Regions from separate parts of the Homo sapiens genome. Here all the other regions are linked to region 1. Evidence: promoter capture Hi-C in 16 types of primary human blood cells and fetal thymus (Javierre and others, 2016). All regions are on one chromosome and are shown on one strand. Each heading gives the region's core, a stretch centred on a gene start or on the middle of the fragment in contact. The rest is flanking DNA. Distances are from core to core; before and after follow the strand shown.

Region 1 (2,583 bases), core at 53-2,552:
TCCAAGGATTAAATGAGCTAGTACTTATAAAGCACTTGCTAATGTCTGTTAAATAAATTATATTATCCACACACCAATCCAAGGCGACTATAAGGTAGCAAGAACCACTCCAAGTCACATAAGAAAATGAATTCCTTTCGTTTTAGCTCCTCTCTTTATTTCAGCAGTGCGTTGTCAACAGGGCCACATTATGTTAGCAGATTTGAACTTTATCCGAAAGGTGTTTGTATTTTATTTCAAATTATGAATTCCTGAACATCGGATTATGTACGATTCTGCAGTGCCCTCGGAGGCCCATTAGAGTCTGGAGCTCGAGAAGCATAACAAACTCTGGTCTGATATTTGTAAGGAGCTTGACAGCCAAGGAGCCACTCAGAAACAGTTATTGGTATTGCCAAAAAAAAAAAAAAAAAAGGAAGCTAAGAAGTCACCCTTCTAAATAAATAAATAAATAAATAAATAAATAAAAACCTGAATTGGAGAGCTGCCTGCATTTCACTCTACTGCCTCTGGAAGAAGAGTGTTATCTAAAGTGCTTCCATCATGAATAATGATTGAGAAACTGCTTTTACTCTCCCGACTACTGTACTCCCAGGCAGAAACCCACGGCTGAAGCCCACGATGCCCATGTGTAACTTGGTTATTACACACACGTTTGGAGCCCAGTGTGCAGACCCGCAGCGCAGAGGAGGCGGCGGAACACCCCGGGTTGGTCGGGTTTCCAAGGGCTGACCCGAGCTCCAGCACTTTTTCCGCGCCTGATTTTTCAGGTCATTTTCGAATGGGCTATCTTTGCTTACATTTTGAGCTTGGATCCTCTCCAGAAAGCATTACTACCTTCTAAAAGGAAAAACATCTCGTATTTGCAGACAGTGCTGAGGGAGCAAAGTTCATTTTCTCGGGTAGGAGAAGATGATTCTCTTGCAACACGTGCGGATTGTGACAAAATCTTTCATTAACAAGGGGAGTTTCGGTGAAGTGGAGGTTTGGGGAAAGGCGAGGAAGTCGGTCTGGAGCAAGCAAGCAAAGTGCGGAAGCTGTACTGGGATTCTTCTAGAAAGTGGGGTGGGAAAGGAGCTAGGGAGGGCGTGTGGAGGGACGAGATCTGTGTCAGAACGTGCGTGTGAGCGGATACAAAACCCGAGAGAGGCGTGAGCAGCGCTGTGTTTGCGAGCGGGAGCGAGGGGCGCCGGCTGGGGTGTGTGCTCCTGGTGAGTGACACCGAGGGGAAGGCGGGCGGGTCGGCGGGCGGGGGCAGCCTGCGAGGGGCGGGAGTGTCCCTGCGTGGGGCGGCCGAGCCGGAGTTGTGTCAGTGAAGGAATCCAGTCCGGGGGCCGAGCTGGCTGCGCCCTCCGCTGCAAGCGCCGGCAGCGCGGGGCGAGCTCCGGACGGCGCGCGGCCCAGGCAGCGGCTCCCGCTCGGCCCGCCCTCCGAGCCGCAGGGGCCGCCACCGCCGCGGCGCCTCCCCTGGCGACCGCGCCCCCGGGCCCCGGCTCCGGCCCGGGACGGAGGAGCCGGCGCTCGACACAGAGGTAAGCCCAGGACCCCCTCCACGCCGGGCCGGCTGGGGATGCAGGGCGCGGGCGGACGCGGAGGGGCCTGCGCGGCCGGGACGGAGACTCGGCTGGGCCGAGCATTCCGCAGCCCGGGCCGCCCAGCCTCCGCCGCCTCCCGGAGCGCTGGGTGTGGCCCGCGCTCGGCGCCGAGGCGGGCTGGTGGCGCGGACCGGACGCGAAGGTCGCCGTCCTTCCTTTCTCCAGCCGGCGCGGGCAAGCGGGAGGAGGCGCCGGCTGGGACGCACAGTGGCGCTCCCCGGGCGAGCGTGTGGCCGCCGCGCTCCGACGTGTACCCGCCCGCCCCGGATCTGAATCGCCCGCGGCCGCCGTCCCTCGCCTGCCGTCCTCCCGCGCGGGCGCCCCCGTTCCCTCCCAAGCCGGAAAGAGACCCACCGTCCCCCAGGCTGCTCTCTGGCCCGGAGCCGCAAAGCCCACGTCAGCCGCGACCACCCCGCCCTCGGATCCCAGCCGGGTGCGGGGGCCGCGGCCCCACTGAACCCCGCGCCCCTGGCGCCCAGCGGGAGTGGGATGCGTTGGCGTCCGCGCTGCGCGGGTGGGCTGGGGTGGCCGGAGCAGACGCGGAGCGCCCTGGCCGCGGGACGAAGCGGTCGCGCCGCCGCATTTGGGCGGGGGGACCCCGGAGTCCGCGGGCTGCGGACCCCAGCGGGAGACGGGGTTGTCGTAGGATGCGCTCGCGCTGGACGCCGGCGCACTCTGAATATCATGCTGCCGCACACGCGGGGCTGAAGGGCCGAGTCTTCACCTGCGCGGGGATGCGGCGGAAGCGTCGCGTCTTCGCGAGTGGAGGTTTCGTGTTCCCGCGGGGTTGGTGTGTTTTTGAACTTCACGAGCTTCTCATCCCCCCCGCAATCCTGGTTTTAGCAGATGTCGGGGTTTTGGAGACCTGACACTTTTCGTGAAAGATTCTTTCTGTACGTTTTCTTTTGGCTATATTACAGGGTTTGTAGCTTGAGAACTAGTGAAAACCCTTGAACTTCAAACACAGTCTCATTGCTTATTTTTTGAA
Region 2 (2,583 bases), core at 63-2,562, 390 kb before region 1:
ATATATTTTTATAATATGTATTATTTTCTTTTGCCCTCAAAATAATTGACTGGTTTAGTTGACTGCTAATAAAAACTGGAGAAAAAAAAAGAGAATAAAGAAAAAAACAACTACTACTTAGATTTAAGAGAAAAAAAAGCCACTTACTTACTTGGTGCCCTTGTGGCTCAGATTGGGAAAATAACATGTGACATTTCCGACTATGACTGCCAGAATAATTTTGTGGAACAATTACTGCATGCATTCCTAAAATAATGATGATGATAATGATTACATTTATTGAGCACCTCCTAAGTGTTTTTAAAGTGTGCCAGCCAGGATATATAGTACAAGTCTTCAGAGGAAGTCTAAAAAGTCTTACATACAGTTTGAGGCCAGATTGCCTGGGTTTGAACCCTGATTTAGAACTTTTTAGGTATAAAGTCCCTGGACAATTGTTACATCTCTCTGTGTTTCAGCTACTTCAACTACAAAATAAGAATAATAGTTTATAAGGTGTCAATGGAGATTAAATGTGTGGATACTAAATGAGTTCTGGTCCCTTCTTATCTCTCTGGTGACTTTAAAAATTATTGGAGTATCCTAGTCGTCTGTTCTTCCATGTTTCCTCTGTCTGTGTTCACTCCCTTCAGTCTCATGGCTTTACTCACTACCTGTACACTGACACCCCTCAACATTTATGTATCTAGCCTACACATATTCCCCAAACTTTAGGCCAACCAATTATATGCACGATTATTTCCTTTTGGATATTTAATAGATATCCTAAACCTAAAATCTCTGGATCTTTACCCCTATGCAGTCTTCCTCATGTCATTAATGGAAACTTTACCTTCTTAGTTGCTCAAGATAGAAATCTTGAAGTCATCCATTAGAACTGTCTTTCATACCTCATTTCATCAAATCTAGTGGTTTTACCTTTTCAGTGTATCTAAAGTAATCAGAATAACCATTGAAAAATGTAAGTCAAATCATTCCACGTCTGCTCAAAACTGTGCAGTCACTTCCCATGTCACTCAGAGTAAGAGCCAGAGTCCTTCCTGTTAATATCCTGTCCTGCAAGGCTTTTCATTATTTCTATCTTTTCCCACCCTGTTACCTATCTGACTTGGTCTCCTTTTTCTGTTTACTCTTCTCCAGCCTCTCTGGCTTTCTTGGTGTTGCTCAAACATGTCAGGCACACTATACCTAAAAAGCTTTCTGTATACTGCCTGGAACAGCCTTCCAAGTAGATGACTTGTAGGTTTATTACCTCACCTCTTCCAGGTCTGCTCAAGACTCTGCCTCTCTGAGGCCTTTTCTGACCATCCTGTTTAATAATCATAGTATATATAGGCTTCCTATCAACTTTTCTTCTTTATTATTACCCATTGCATTTACTATACTAGTTTTCGTTTTGAGTTTTGTTTGCCTTCTGCCACTAAAATATAAGCTTACGTTTGTTCACCGATATAATCTGCGATGCTTGAGAGTTGCATGTTTTAGGTGTGCAGTAGATGACTTGTATAAATGAGTATTTTTTAATTGCTTTGAACAATGCATGAAATACTTGAAATGTGTTGGCTATTATATAAAATGCTGTTAGGCTGATTTCTTCATCTGTATTTTTGTACTTGATTCTTTTGAGCCTAATATCTATCCTTATGAACTTTTCGCTGCTGAGTACAGCCCATCTTTTTATTGTGTTGATGCTTTTAGAATGCCTATAGACATTCTATTTTCTTTATTTTCTTTTATTACTATTTTTTAGAGAGACAGGGTCTCACTATGTTGCCCACTCCTGTGTTCAAGTGATCCTCCTGCCTCAGCCTTTTAAAGTGTTGGGATTACAAGCATGAGCCACCACACCTCGCTGAGCATTCTTGTTATAGCTTTATTCTTAATTTGAAGAAATATTGAACAGAATAGGGCTAAACAGAATTTTGTAAGATAGTATTAGAAGCTTTGCCTATCTTTTTTTTTTTTTCCTTGAGATGGAGTCTTGCTCTGTTGCCCAGGCTGGAGTGCAGTGGCGTGATCTTGGCTTACTGCAACCTCCACCTCCCAGGCTCAAGCGATTCTCCTGCCTCAGCCTCCTGAGTAGCTGGGACTACAGGAGCATGCCACCACGCCTGGCTAATTTTTCTTTTTTTTTGTATTTTTAGTAGAGATGGGGTTTCACCATGTTGACCAGGCTGGTCTCAAACTCCTGACCTCAGGTGATCCTCCCACCTCAGCCTCCCAAAGTGCTGGGATTATAGATGTGAGCCACCGCACCTGGCCTGAAGCTTCACCTATCTTGATACTGTTTCATTATTTGGTGTTTGTTAATTGGAACTGGTTTTTCATATGATTTTAAGTCCTCTTAATTCCTATTAACTTCTTGATGTTCCTTTTGCAGTCATGTTTTGTTGTATGTCCTTTTTAAAAATTCTGTACTTTTCCTTTATCATTTGAATTACAAGAAAGCTAAGGCCATATATATTAGTCCATTCTCACACTGCTAATAAAGACATACCCGAGGCTGGGTAATTTATAAAGGAAAGAGGTCTAATTGAATCAGTTCCACAGGGCTGGGAGGCCTCAGGAGACTTACAATCATGG
Region 3 (2,583 bases), core at 23-2,522, 370 kb before region 1:
GTGTAGCAAGCAGTGCAGTGAGAAATTTTGTTGGCAGAGGAAAAAAATTCCTTTTTGCATCAGGTCAAGCCCCCAAACTAGCCAAAGAAAAGCTGTGTAATCTATTCAGAAGTACTGGAGATGTGCTGCACATTAGGGAGAATGGAGAATTACTGGTCACAACGAATCCCGGTTTCTATCACCCATAGCTATGTGAACCCAGACAATCATTAAGCAATCTGGGTTGGTTAGATGGCTTCTAAGATCTCTTTCAATAAAAAAGTTCTAAGATTCAGAATTCCTGAGAAGTTGCAGCTAACATACACTGTATAAGATTTTATACATTAAAAACAAACATCTCATTTGGTCTTAACCCAGTAGGAAGAAAAGATTAAAATATTTTGTATTTGAAATAAACAGACCCTAATATTAATTATGACCAGGGAAATAATTTTAAAACATCCCAAAGGAAAGTTCTCTAACTTTTAAAATATTATAAATTAATACTGCAACAGGAGCTACCTCAAATCTCTCAACAAAGATGGAATATAATTAAATAGAAGAACTAGCACCAGTTATCAACTATGTGCCTGCCCTTGAACTCTCTGCATTTTTGTAGTTCTGTTTTAAAGATGAGGAAAATAAGCTTCATAGATAAATGTTATTTTGTCTAAGGTCATCCAGTTTGCTTCTCCATTAAACAATCAATTAAGATGACTATTCAGTGCACAAACTGTAATCTGTTTTATTAATACTTCCAAGTTTTCTACATGACTCTGGATTTATACTTTGTATCAATTCTCTTGCTGGTTAAGAAAAAAAACAAGATTTATTAAAAACTGACCATAAATAATGTGTAAACTAAGGAGAGTTTTGTCTTTTTCCTTACTGAAGGACAAGGAATCAGTAAAGAAGTTCTTTGCTTTGCTTAATGAAGATCAAAACCTGGTAATTAAATTTGGCTAATATAATCATTCCTTTTCTGACAAGACTTTTTTCACCTTTATTCACCTGAGTAACTTACCTGTTTCCAAAGACACCTAGGAAATTCAGAATGTTATATATGCTTTTCCTTATTTACTATAATTTATAGGACATGAGTGGATGGATTCTCTTCAATAGAGAAAATGATTTTCTCTAATTAAAATGCACCAAATTGATGTACTAAGAGATTGCTTTAGATGAACACATTTATGTTCAGTGAAGATTATGTGGTCTTCAATGACACTGCAATATAATTACTAGGTACAAAACAAAAGCAGAGATCCACACACAATGGCTCACTGTCTTCGATGACAACACTTTTAGGATCTCATTTATTCATTCTTTAAGTAATTTTTCTTTTAAAAAAGGGATAGGTGGAAAAAATAGTTGGGAAATCTTTAACTAGGCTAAGGTTTAGACATAGGTATAAATTATTTATTTTGTAACATTCAAAAACCAAAAACCACCCTGACATACTGGGTGGCAAGAAAAGTCAAGATCAGATTAAACATTTGTTTTGCACTAATCACAAAACTAATAATCCAAGTCACTATCATCAACTCCAGTTGATCTCAGCTCTGATTATGCATCAGAACACCCTGTGAGGTCTATTAAGTTCCTATACCAAATCCCAAACACTCTTGAATCAGTCTACAAAGTTGGGACCTAGGTATCTGTACATTTTTTAAAGTTCCTCAAAAAATTCTGCTTCTAGGCAAATGTAATAGATATTGTGCGTTGCTCATGTTTTTCCTATCAGAACCATGATTTTAAAAAAACTATCCTTTCTGTCCCCATATATCCCTCATGTGGCCTCCACTTCTACTCTCAGCTCCAGTGGACCTGACTGCCCTAAAGGTTATTCTAGACCCTTTGCCAGTGACTGGCTCAGGGATGGACAGGTCTAAGTTACTTTAGAGCAATGAGACCTAAGGATATGGAAAGTGAATTCTGGGAAAGCTTTCTCATACTAGGACAGGGCCCCTAGAATCCAGCCTGACTCTTCCGCTGCATGTAAATGAAGATGCACAAGGCTCCAACTGCTACTGGCAATCATCCCATGACCACGAGGGTAGCCAGCCTTAGGATGATGCCAATGTTGTGGTTGAAAAGGGGGTGGGGTGTGGAGGCGGGTTCCCAAGGTTCTTGATGACATTACTGAATCATTGGATCAGAAACACTGCAGCACATTCTGTCAATAGATTTCATGTATTGTGAATCAATATATTTTCTTACTGTTTTTAAGTCATTTTAAGTTGGACTTTTAGTGGTCAGCATCTGAATGTTAAAGAGTGGTCCCAGCACAGCATTCTTTAATTATAACAATCTGTATCAAGTAGAATCCACACAAACACCCCTTCGTACTTACATAATCTGTAAATCTGATGTATCTTTCCTATTTTAACAAAATCTTTAATTTATATCGTTATACCTTACTAAAGTGTTAATGTGCATTGCATTCACTTCATTATTTACTCAGAGTTCTTGCTGTAGGCTTTGTCTTGAATGTGTAGGACCATTCGTCGTGCATAGAAGTCCCTATATTCCTCTGGTAACTCGGCCAGTGTTTTCAAGGCTCTGTCCAGAATTTGTGCAGCTCTTGATGCTGCTGTAGGATCT
Region 4 (2,583 bases), core at 23-2,522, 280 kb before region 1:
CAGGCAAACAACAGAACCAGCAATTCTGAGAGCAGGGGACTCGTGCAGCTGTTCCACAGGTCTTTAATTATTCACCCAGCCTGTCACCCCATTTCCAGCTCCTTTTAATTCCAACTATTGTTGGTTTTAGGATTTCAAAGTTCGTCTGGAAAACTAACTTTCTTCCTTCCTTCTTTTCTTCCTTTTAATCTTTTATTTTCTCTCTCTCTCTTTTTTTTTTCTTTTTTTCTGTTCAACTACATGGGTTGCAGATTCTTCAGCTTCGGGGAAATATGTCATTTGCTTTATATATTCCAGAAATTTTTTACTTGCTTGAAGATGCCCTCTTGGTTTTCAGTAATGCAATAGGTTTGTTCTTATTTTGATATTACTTATGATATTTTGACGGGATTTGGAAAAGAAAGTGAGAGAAATATATATGTGTGTGTGTGTATATATATATGTGTGTGTGTGTGTGTGTGTGTATATACACACACACCAATATGTATATATTTGGTTACAAAATTTTAGTCTGAAGTTTTCAGTTTAAATTTGATCCCTGCATTTTTAAGTCACAGTCATGAGTTCAAGTTAGAGTCCTTCCCTAAAATCTCTTCCACACTGTTAAGACCCACAACCTTCCCTCCCTCATGGGCCCACTCAGAGCAGTCGTGACAGAGGGCAAACTCTTATTTAAAATGTAGGTTAACTATAGCCATTTCTGCCCCCCTTGACGCCCCTAAGGATGGGTGGCAGGATTCATACCCCTGGGAAAAAATCTGATCCAGTTCTCTTGTAGAGACTGATGAGGAAGTAGGTGATCAATTGTCCAACAGCTAGTGAGTGTTTGGTTCTACCAAGGGAGTGCTGCAGCTGCATTGACGAAACCTAGATTGCTTTGCATAGTAACATGGGGTAGATTACTGATAAGCAGTGAAAAAAGTAGAGGGCTGAAATACATGACAGAATGCTGTGGCCTGAATTGTTGGAAATAGTTAAAAGACTTTTAAAAATATAGAAATCAAACACTTTTTACCTATTAGCTCTTCTTTGATGTGGGTCCCCTTCTTCTCACCAATGTTTGAGTGGAGTTTGCTGTACTCAACACGCCCCTTTTTTTTAGTGGGGGTATTTCTGGTTTCGTATGGAACACAGAAAAGGCAACAATTGTGGGGCAAAAATAAAAGTGAAAATAAGATTTCAGGGGTAACAGAAACTAAGATTCAAAAATGACATTGAGTATGGGAACTTCTGGGACTCTTCAGGACGTAAATATTGGGAAGGAAAAGAATGTAGAGTTTCCCCTGACATCTGGGTTACATATTTCTTATTGAACTGTCATTTAATTGCTTGCGTGTGCACATGTTCATTATAAACTTAGGTGTGGGAAGTACTTTTTGTGGTGTGCATCTATCTTTTTGCTGCCCATGAGTCTAGCAGGGCAGTGCCTACATAAAATGCTTTCATTAAATAATTTTAAAATCACTTAAAATATTTTTTGCTGATCCATTCATATCTCTACTTCTTCTTTGTGAAAAAAGATCTATTTTTGTAAGATACGTGGTTGGAGTAAGAGCTAAGGCTTAAAGGCAGATTGGCCTGTCTGAGGGTTAAATCCACAACAAATCTACCTTACAACCAGGTATTAAGGCACTGAACATGTTTTATTTTAATGAAACAAGTAAAAAAGTACACAAATACACACTGTAGAAAGCACAACCAAGAAAGTGGGTTAAGATATGATTTACCTGTTTTGTTTAATAATCATTGATTTTCCAATTCATATAAGATAATGACATAGCTCTAGAAATGTATGCCTGTTTTTGTTTTTGTTTTTGCCTGCCTAGAATCCCTTCCTCTTTCTTTGGGTAAATAGTCATTTGGTTTTCCTTTGAGCAACCATCTGCTGTCTATTGCAGATTTGGTTGTATTTTCGATCAACATGTCCTCCTTCCCTGGGCCAAGACTCCAGCCATGCCAGTCAGACTCCTCCTGCAGTTTGAATGCTAGGCCAACTAACGGAAGGATTAGAGTTAATTCATTTCTCCCATGCTGCCCTCAATAGAGTATTCATCAGTTTCTGCTACCAAGATCCTAATCAGAGCTGTCCTGATTATTGTCCTTTCTGAACCTGGGTTCTTTAAATTCTTTTTTTTAATCCAGTTTTCTGAGCTACTGAAATCCAGTCCAGTAAGTTCCCTTTTTTTGTTAAAGTCAACCAGACTCAGTTTCTGTGGCCTGCAACCAAAGAACTCTGACAGATACAGCTCCTATACAAATGGTCTGTTTAGATTTTCTATAAATATTTGATAAATTAATAAAGAATTTGGCTGGCAATAGCTACTCAAATAAAGATTGGCTTCCTCAAACAATAACATTTATTAAGTCACTGGTTATTGTGGTATTCCATCAAAAAGGACTCGGTATTATCCAAGGCTTCATGAAGGAACGTAAAAGGGGAGGGACTCGCATGTTTCTTTACCTCTAGAGCATGTATGTTGAAGGAGGAACGGGGCACATACAAATCAAAACTTGTTGAGTTCCTTCTCTATTTTTGTTTGATCCTTTAGTGACATGTACTACAATGGTACAAGGACTAGAACT
Region 5 (2,583 bases), core at 50-2,549, 270 kb before region 1:
GCTGGTATTACAGGCGTGAGCCACCACACCTGGTTGACTGCTGCAGTTTTAAAAGTAATATGTTTTTATCTCCAATATGTGTGTGATATATTATTTTACACAGTCAAAGTCATGGTGTATCCATTGTTCTGTATCCTATTTTCACTTCCCCTCTGCCTTTGAAAATATTTGTCAACATAATTTTTAATGGCTGCATAATGTGCCATAGAATATGGTAGATGTATATAGTTTAAAAATCATTCTCTCGTTGCATATTTTGGTGTTATAAACAATGTTACAATTAACATTCTGTCTATGGTTTATACTATTTCCTTCAGAGAGATTTCTAGGAATAAAGTGACTGGATCAAAACATCTGAGTAAATACTTGTAACCTTTTTACCTTTCGTTTTAAAATTGCTGTTCAGAAAGATTGTCCAAATTTAGACTCTCAACATAAGGTATAAATATACTTATTTTATCAAATTATCCCCAGTATTATCATTATTTAAAAATCACTATTAATCTGATAGTTGAAAAATAGAGGCTGGAAATGGGTGGGTGTGCTTGGGAGCCTTAGTGCCTGGGTTCAGAGGTCAGTCCTGCCTATAATCCCTGTCTTTTGGGAGACCAAGTCAGGAGGATCACTTGAGGCCAGGAGTTCAAAACAGCCTGGGCAACATAGCAACATAGGGAGACCTCATCTCTACAAAAGTGTTATTATTATTATTATTATTATTATTAGCTAGGCATGGTGGTGTGTGCCTGTAGTCCTAGCTACATGGGAGGCTGAGGTGGGGGACTCGCTTGAGCCCAAGATTTCAAGGCTACAGTGAGCTATGATCACACCACTGCACTCCAGCCTGGACAAAAGAGCAAGACCCAGTCTCAAAAAACACAACAAAACAACAAAAAATAAAAATAGATTATTAGTGTACAGGTTGAGTATCTTTTATCTGAAATGCTTGGGACCGGAAATATTCTGGATTTTGGATTGTTTTGGATTTTGGAATATTTACAAATACATAATGAGATATCTTGGGGACGGAACCCAAGTCTACACATGAAATTCATTTGTGTTTCATATACACCTTGTACACAGAGCCTGAGCATAGTTTTGTACAATATTTTAAATAATTTTGTGCATGAAACGAACTTTTGACAGTGTTTTCTGGGACCCACCACATGAGGTCAAGTGTGAAATTTTCCACTTGTGGTGTCCTGCCAGCACTCAAAAAGCTTTCGATTTTGGAGCATACAGAATTGTGGATTTTCAGATTAGGGATGCTCAACTTATATTTCACATTACACTTCTTTGATTACTAGTGAATTGAAAGAAATTTAGAAGCCAGGTTAGCAGTTATTGTTTCCAGCAATAATGGGTACTACAATGTTTAACACGTACAAGCTTTCTGTATGTAATTTCCTTTAAGACCTCCCCTTGCTGCTGAACAGAAGGCCATGATGGATTCTGCAGCCCAATCTCTGCCATATGTTTGGTGCTTATTATTAAGCCCAACTACTGAGCAAAGAAAGACGTAATTAGCCTTTTTGGGAATTAATTTAAGCCTTCAGCAGTAAAAAAAAGGCCTAAAGTTGATTTATTTCCCAGAATTTATTTGTATTTGATGTCTTTTTAAGTCTAGGCAGACTAAATGACCAGGCATGGTTTCAGCCTTCTACAAAGGAGTTTCTTGAGTTCTAGGAGACAGTCAAAAATAATTGCCTTAGTGCCTTTGCACATCTCTAAGATACCAGTTGAAGACAAATGATTGAGTTATGTGAAAGGAGAGAACCACTCGGGCACTAACAGAGGCAGCACAAGTTGAATTTATCTTCAATTACCAGCAGGTGAGATGGAGGCACTGAGTTCTGAGTTGAGAGCTGTGGCTCAGCTGAGGGAATTTGGCCTTTGCTGCTAAGGTGAAAATTAGTAGGAGAAGGTGCTCTCTGTAATAAAGATGTTTGTTCCTTCATGGGACTGACTTAATCAAGAAAGTTGCTTCTGTCAGTAATGATCCTAGGCCAGATTTAAATATGTGCTTCCAGAACAAATGCAAGTTGTCTGATTCTAAAGCCATTCTACACATTATTGTGCTCCCAAAGACTTTATTGTTATGCAATGATAGGAAAAGATTTTTACCCCCAGAGCACTTGGAAGCACATTGCAATTCCCAGCCTTACTCTCCACCCAAATTGTTGCCCAGATGATTTTGCTCATTTGGGCCGTTATTCATTGATGGCGCATTTGGAAACAAAATCCTGAGGTTGTCACGGGTCTGCACGTATTTACATAGTTCTCAAATGCCAAAATGATAAACACTGTGCAGATGTTCCATAGGACAGTAACCCAGTCTGCCTTTGGCAGTTTCACACGAGAACGACTAACCACATCAGCTCTGGAAAGAGACACCACAGCATGAGCTCACTGACTTTTCTTTTCATGAAAAAGTCAGGGACCAAGATTAATTAAAACCAGGAGCTTGTTACTTTTAAAGATAGCATAATGATAACCATTCTGAAATGTTCCTCATTCTTGCAACCCCAGCACTTTAGGGGAAGCCAGAAAGTGAGAATATAAAAAATGCCTGATGGAAGTCTGTAG

What was found. Contacts are between HindIII fragments. The CHiCAGO score rates a contact against its expected background, and 5 or more counts as called.
Region 2: a contact is called between a fragment that was not itself captured here and the fragment with the promoter of SPATS2L in region 1, in 1 of 17 cell types (M1 macrophages). The highest score is 5.3, in M1 macrophages.
Region 3: a contact is called between a fragment that was not itself captured here and the fragment with the promoter of SPATS2L in region 1, in 1 of 17 cell types (M1 macrophages). The highest score is 5.6, in M1 macrophages.
Region 4: a contact is called between a fragment that was not itself captured here and the fragment with the promoter of SPATS2L in region 1, in 4 of 17 cell types (M1 macrophages, M2 macrophages, naive CD4 T cells and 1 more). The highest score is 9.0, in M1 macrophages.
Region 5: a contact is called between a fragment that was not itself captured here and the fragment with the promoter of SPATS2L in region 1, in 2 of 17 cell types (M1 macrophages and erythroblasts). The highest score is 6.8, in M1 macrophages.

Annotation. Positions count from the first base shown.
Region 1 is chr2:200,305,391-200,307,973 of GRCh38, forward strand. SPATS2L (spermatogenesis associated serine rich 2 like) reads left to right here and starts at 1,303. Exons shown (of 13, transcript NM_001100423.2): 1 at 1,303-1,532. RefSeq lists an enhancer at 678-777 and silencers at 1,188-1,917, 1,938-2,267. The HindIII fragment of the contact is 4,184 bases long and covers 1-2,583 here.
Region 2 is chr2:199,913,555-199,916,137 of GRCh38, forward strand. All of the region lies in intron 1 of C2orf69 (chromosome 2 open reading frame 69), which reads left to right. Among named protein-coding and RNA genes, the nearest start is that of C2orf69, 3.6 kb to the left of the region's middle. The HindIII fragment of the contact is 236 bases long and covers 1,195-1,430 here.
Region 3 is chr2:199,930,632-199,933,214 of GRCh38, forward strand. TYW5 (tRNA-yW synthesizing protein 5) reads right to left here. Exons shown (of 8, transcript NM_001039693.3): 8 at 1-2,583. The coding sequence ends at 2,436. Among named protein-coding and RNA genes, the nearest start is that of C2orf69, 21 kb to the left of the region's middle. The HindIII fragment of the contact is 1,298 bases long and covers 624-1,921 here.
Region 4 is chr2:200,020,788-200,023,370 of GRCh38, forward strand. The region is part of intron 1 of LOC124906112 (a long non-coding RNA gene); the gene reads right to left. Among named protein-coding and RNA genes, the nearest start is that of MAIP1, 66 kb to the left of the region's middle. The HindIII fragment of the contact is 2,955 bases long and covers 1-2,583 here.
Region 5 is chr2:200,037,669-200,040,251 of GRCh38, forward strand. The region is part of intron 1 of LOC124906112 (a long non-coding RNA gene); the gene reads right to left. Among named protein-coding and RNA genes, the nearest start is that of MAIP1, 83 kb to the left of the region's middle. The HindIII fragment of the contact is 169 bases long and covers 1,216-1,384 here.